2 separate regions of the Homo sapiens genome follow, and region 1 is linked to region 2. Evidence: promoter capture Hi-C in 16 types of primary human blood cells and fetal thymus (Javierre and others, 2016). All regions are on one chromosome and are shown on one strand. The core of a region is centred on a gene start or on the middle of the fragment in contact, and the rest is flanking DNA. Distances in the headings are between cores, read along the strand shown.

Evidence for each region. The method cuts DNA at HindIII sites, captures the fragments that hold promoters and counts their contacts. A CHiCAGO score of 5 or more calls a contact.
Region 1: a fragment that was not itself captured here is called in contact with the fragment with the promoter of NUP98 in region 2 in 12 of 17 cell types (naive B cells, total CD8 T cells, total CD4 T cells and 9 more); the score reaches 17.9 in naive B cells.

The regions. Positions count from the first base shown.
Region 1 is chr11:4,037,225-4,040,208 of GRCh38, reverse strand. All of the region lies in intron 3 of STIM1 (stromal interaction molecule 1), which reads right to left. Among named protein-coding and RNA genes, the nearest start is that of RRM1, 56 kb to the left of the region's middle. The HindIII fragment of the contact is 594 bases long and covers 1,147-1,740 here.
Region 2 is chr11:3,796,050-3,799,265 of GRCh38, reverse strand. It overlaps NUP98 (nucleoporin 98 and 96 precursor), which reads left to right and starts at 1,712. Exons shown (of 33, transcript NM_016320.5): 1 at 1,712-1,866. It also overlaps a transcript of PGAP2 not described here. RefSeq lists silencers at 1,696-1,865, 1,946-2,035. The HindIII fragment of the contact is 2,489 bases long and covers 256-2,744 here.

The sequences.
Region 1 (2,984 bases), core at 194-2,693, 240 kb before region 2:
TTTTAACACAGAAATGTTTACATAAATTATAGGAGAAAAACACTACCTTCTAGGGCCAATACCACAGAGGTAGATAAGGAATAACAGAGAACTACAGCATTAAAATATAAATAAACTCTCAAGATATAAAATACCATCAGGGCTGAGCACGGTGGCTTACACCTGTAATCCCAGCACTTTGGAAGGCCGAGGCAGGCAGATCACATGAGGTCAGGAGTTCAAGACCAGCCTGGCCAACATGATGAAACCCCATCTCTACTAAAAATACAAAAAATTAGCTGGGCGTCATCGTGGGCACCTGCAAACCCAGCTACTTGGGAGGCTGAGGCAGGAGAATCACTTGAACCTGGGAGGCAGAGGTTGCAGTGAGCCAAGATCACGCCACTGTACTCCAGCCTGGGCAACAGAGTGAGACACCATCAAAAAGTACAATATAATAAAATAAAATATCATCAGATTTTTATTTATGTGTACATATTACTCTTTTCTCCCAGATAAGGTAATTCATTTTGAGATTACAGATGGACATTTAATTTCAATACATCTGACTAACATCTCACAGATAAACATGAAAAAAAAATCACTGACATTTTCTTTCTTTCGTTTTTTTTTTTTTTTTTTTTGAGATGGAGTCTTACTCTGTTGCCCAGGCTGGAGTGCAGTGGCATGATCTCAGCTCACTGCAACCTCTGCCTCCTGGGTTCAAGCAATTATCTGCCTCAGCCTCCCGAGTAGCCGTGATTACAGGTGCCCGCCACCATGCCCAGCTAATTTTTGTATTTTTAGTAGAGACGGGGTTGCACCATGTTGGCCAAGCTGATCTTGAACTCCTGACCTTGTGATCCACCTGCCTCAGCCTCCCAAAGTGATGGGATTACAGACATGAGCCACCACGCCCAGCTTCTTTCTTTTTTTCAGAGATAGGGTTTCATTCTGTCACCCAGGCTGAAGTACAGTGGCATGACCATAGCTCACTGTAGCCTCAACCTCTGGGGCTCAAGTGATCCTCTCACAGGGCTGGAATTGCAGGCATGAGTCACCACACAGAGCCAACATTTTCTATAATTTTTTTTCATCAAAAATTACTAAGCTTTGGATATCTTATTCTGTTGAGTCTCAAATGAGACAGCAGTTGTGATCTAAGCTTATCGCTACTCCTACACAAGCTGAAGGGTTATCCGACCAATAGGAAAGCCAGTATTTATTCTTTCAAAATAACATGATTACTATTTATTGCTATACAGGTATTTACTTGTAACATTTTTAACAGTATCTTTATTTCTCCAACTTCCATTTGAGAATATTTCTTACACCCAGAAATTTGATGCCCTAACTTGTTTGTTTCATGTATGAGAGAAAAATGGGAAAACTCTGAAAAATGTAAGCAAAGACCTCGTCAGATCTGGAACCAAGTGAAAGATACATAGCAGTAGAGCTAGGCTGGGCCAAGAATAATGGTATATGAAGAACAACGGCCCAAGCAAAAGAAGATTCAGCTGACACTTCTGTTTCAGGGTAAGCTGAAGTACCAGAGATGGAATTTACCCTCCCTCCTGAATTAAAATTACCCCTCCCAAAAAAGACAACATATATGAAATAATGGTTTTCAGGACACTGGACATCAGCCTACAAAGGACAATGACTCTTGAGAGATAGGAAACAAATGAGGGAAGTTATACAATTGCCCCAGCTTATGGCCTTGAATTTCCAAGCCACAGTGCAAGGATTAAAATCTAAGCTTGAGAGAGGGAAATGAAAATACACTACTGGAAGCTTCTTTTTTTTTTTATTATTATACTTTAAGTTTTAGGGTATATGTGCTACTGGAAGCTTCTTATACTACATGTGACATGTTATAATATATCTTGAAAGTAGGCCCAGTGCAGTGGCTCAGATCTGTAACACCAGTACTTTGGGAAGCCGAGGTAGGCGGATCACCTGAAGTCAGGAGTTCGAGACCAGCCTGACCAACATGGCAAAACCCCATCTCTATTAAAAATACAAAAATTAGCTGGGCGTAGTGGCATGCACCTGTTATTCCAGCTACTCAGGAGGCTGGGGCACGAGAATCTCTTGAACCCAAGAGACAGAGGTTGCAGTAAGCCAAGATCACACCACTGCACTCCAGCCTGGGTTACAAAGCAAGACTCTGTCTCAAAAAAAAAAAAAAGACTGTGATGAGTTAAAGATACATATCTTTTATCTCCTAAAGCAACCACTAAAATACCAGTTATATCTAATAAGCCAACAAAGAAAATACAATTGAATTATAAAAAATACTGAATTAACCCAAAAGAAAGCAGAAAAGGTAGGAAAAGGAATTAAAGAACAGATGGGACAAACGGAAAACAAATAGCAAGAAAATGGACTAACCTAAATTATCTTATATTAATAATCATATCAATCATATTTGATTAATCATATTAATAATCACACCAAACGTAAATGGTCTAAATAATGCAATTAACAGATATTGTCACATTGCAAAATATACATATATATATATAGGACCCAACTATATGCACCTACAGGAAATGTACTTTAAATATAAAAATACAAATAGATTAAATGTAGAGGGATGGAAAAAGACATTCCAAACTAACAACAGTCAAAAGACAGCTATATTTTTATCAAAGTAGATTTCAGAGCAAAGATTACCACGAAGGATAAAGCAGTTCATTTCATAATGTTGAAGGGGTCAGTTAATCACTAAGAAATAATCATCCTAAATCTTTATGCACCTAGTAACAGAGCTTCAAAATACGTGAACCAGAAACTACAAGGAAAAATAGGCAAATCCACAGTTATAACTGGAAACTTAAATACTCCTCTCTAACAATTGATAGAACAAGTATGCAGGCTGGATGCAGTGGCTCACGCCTGTAATTCCAGTACTTTGTGAGGTTGAGGAAGGCAGATCACTTGAGGTCAGGAGTTCGAGACCAGTCAACATGGTGAAACCCTGTCTCTACTAAAAATCCAAA
Region 2 (3,216 bases), core at 463-2,962:
AGCCCGGCCAGTATACGCTTTGCTTTCTGCGCACAGTTCCTGCTATGAGACTCTCAGTCACTAAACAGGTCTAGTTTCTAGAAAATGCCCACCTTTCACTCTTGTAATATCAGTTTTCTGCTAATGGGCTAGGCCCCAGAAGGACTTCCAAGAAGAGCCCAAGGCACAGAAAACCGAGGGTAAATAATAGGATACAAAGTGACAAGGCTTTAACAGAGGCCTGCCCAAGCATTAGCTCAACTCGCTGTGAAAGCTTGGCAAATGTATCACTGAGAAGATGGGAACATTTGAAATACCCGTCCTTTAAGAATAAGTAGGGGTTCGGCTGGGCGCGGTGGCTCACGCCTGTAAGGCCAGCACTGTGGGAGGCCGAGGCGGGCGGATCACCTGAGTTCCGGAGTTCGAGACCAGCCTGGCCAACATGGTGAAACCCCATCTCTACTAAAAATACAAAATCAGCTGGGCGCGGCGGCGAGTGCCTGTAATCCCAGCTACTCGGGAGGCTACGACAGGAGACTCTCTTGTACCTGGGAGGCGGAGATTGCAGTGAGCCGAGATCGTGCCACTGCACTCCAGCCTGGGAGAAAGAGGAGACAGAGCAAGACTCCATCTCAAAAAAAAAAAAAAAAATTAGTTCATGGGCGAGGTGGCTCACGTCTGTAATCCCAGCACTTTGGGAGGCCGAGGCGGGTGGATCACTTGAGATCAGGAGTTCGAGACCAGCCTGACCAACACAGTGAAATCCCCGTCTCTACTATAAATACAAAAATTAGCTGGGCCTGGTGGCGGACGCCTGTAATCCCAGCTACTTGGGAGGCTAAGGCGGGAGAATCGCTTGAACCCGGGAGGCAGAGGTTGCAGTGAGCCGAGATTGCGCCAATGCACTCCACCCTAGGCGACAACGCGAGACTTCATCTCAAAAGAAAAAGAAAAAAAAAGAATTAGGGGTTCTCCACGTGCAGCTGGGAAAGACGTTCCAACAATCCTCATTTGTACCAGGCCCTTTGGTGGGCCAGTCCCTTAGGGCATCTCTAATGCTCCTAATGTCCATCCTAGAAATTCAGGGAGGGAAAGAAAGTGCTGGGGCGAGCATGGGTCAGGAGAGAATAGGGTCAGGATTTAGGGCCCTGAAGAAGCCTCGGGCAAACTCTTTGGACAGACAGACCTTCCAAGAGGGCCCTCAGGCTCCGCACGTGGTCTGGGCGGGAAGTGCGGGCAGAGAGACTAGGAAGCCTTCCCAGCAGCGCCGGCGGACCGGGGCAAGGAAAGGGTCGAATAGTTACCATGCCATTCTGGGGCCGTCCCTCTGATTGGCCCGAGCTCCCTCAGCCCGAGTCGCGGCGCTCCAAGGAAGGGGGCGGAGTCTCTATGTTGCGTCACCACCCTTCCCGACACCCCGCCGGTGCTTCCCAATCTAGCCATTCACAAGCCCACTTCGAGAGGCCCTGTGTGACGTCACGACACGCTCCCGCCAACCGCGGCGGCGAGGGGCGGGACTCCACGGCCCTCTCACCGCTCCTACCCTGTGCCTCCCCGAACTCCTTCTGCCCCTCCTCTTCCCTCTCGCCCCTTCCCCCTTCAGTTCGGTTTCAAAAGACGCGTTGCCCAATGAATAACAGGGTCGACCCAGAGTGGCGGCCGCGTCCACCAATTCGCGGACGGCGAGGGCGGAGCGTCCGCAACGAGCCTCTGACGCCGGGCGGCGTGTGACGCAGTCGGGCCCTCTGCGCGCTGCGCCCGAAGCGGCGGTCGGTGGCAGGGGTGGTAGCGGCGGCGGCGACGGTTTCGTGGGGGCCGCGCGCTGCTCTGTGAGCGGCGGGTGGCAGCAGGGGACTCCTGACACTTCCCCTTCCCCACCGAACCGCGGTAAGTCGGGAGCCCGAGCTGCAGCGGCCGAGACCGGCAGGTTTCTCCCCCCTTCCGGGCGGGCGGACGCGCGGGGCGTCTCAGGGCCTCTCCGCTTCGAAGTCTAGCGCCGCTGCGCGCACCTTCTGGCCTGAGAGAGGGGCGGTGCTGAGGACCCGGGGGCCCGGAGCCCGGGAGGCCCGGCTTTGGAGGCCCTGGGAGAGAATGGACATCAGTGGGGTCTAGGCCTGGAGGTCTCCAGTTGCTGCCCACGCGAGTGGGTGTCTGTCTGGTTGTACTCATTCATTCAGTGGTGTAAGGACCCCACGGTGGGCTGGCCTTTCCGGGGTCAGCGCCTTGAAACCCTGAATACGGTCTGCCCCGCACTTCCTTGACCGTCATGTGGGACTGGGCTTTATTTGCCTTGGCTTCTCCATAAGGGAAGTGGGCACCCCGAGGATTAGGGTGAGTCCGAAGTTTGGGAGATTTTTAAGATAATATCTGAGAATAGGAGTCGGTTCGGTGGAGCAAAAGGTTCTTTTCTATTTTCCCACGTGTTCAGTGTAAAGCCAGATGAGGAGACAGATTGAGTTTCTGGATTACTATAGCCATAAGGACTTTAGAAATTGTTTAAGTCAATCCCCCTACCTTACATCAGTTTTGTAGATGGGGAAACCGAGGCCCGGAGTAACAGGCAGGATTAGCCAATGCCAGATTTTTGACAGTCTAAACAGTTTTCTACTACCTCACCCTCCCTGGATATTTCAGTCTCCCATTATTAAGAATTCCCTTTAGGAGGTCGGTGCGGCATGGACATTAGGTAGCTAAACGTAGATGTAGTCTTCACAGCGTTTTCCGTTTAGTTGCTACCAGCTCTGTTCACGGGTAAGGTGGAAGCTTCGTTAGTGGTACCCTAACCTAGAGCTTGAGAACTAAACTTAGAAGATGGTTAAAGAACGTCAGCGTTGTTATGTATCGGAAACAAATCGGTAAAACTACAAGCCATTGTTTCCCTTTCTAAATCTGAATTTTTTGACTTGTGTCAGCTGATGAGGACTCGGAGTCAGTTAGGGATTTATAACAGTACTGGAATAGAAAGCAGGAAATATTGATAAGACTTAGAAAGCCAGGTAGGAGTCCGTTTGTAGTAGTTGTACCTCGGAACTCATGGCTCCTTTCAGGTACAGAATTCAAAGTGAAGTATTATAGTAGAATAAGGTGAGGAAATAAAACTCCGTTTTGGAGGAAGAAGCTAACTGGAATAAAGAGCAAAAAGAGAGCAGTGATCATTCCCTGTGACGGTCTTACAAATTCGAAAAGAAACTCGAGTTAACTGGGTTACAGTATGTTTACCTGGTGGAGGAAGTTAGG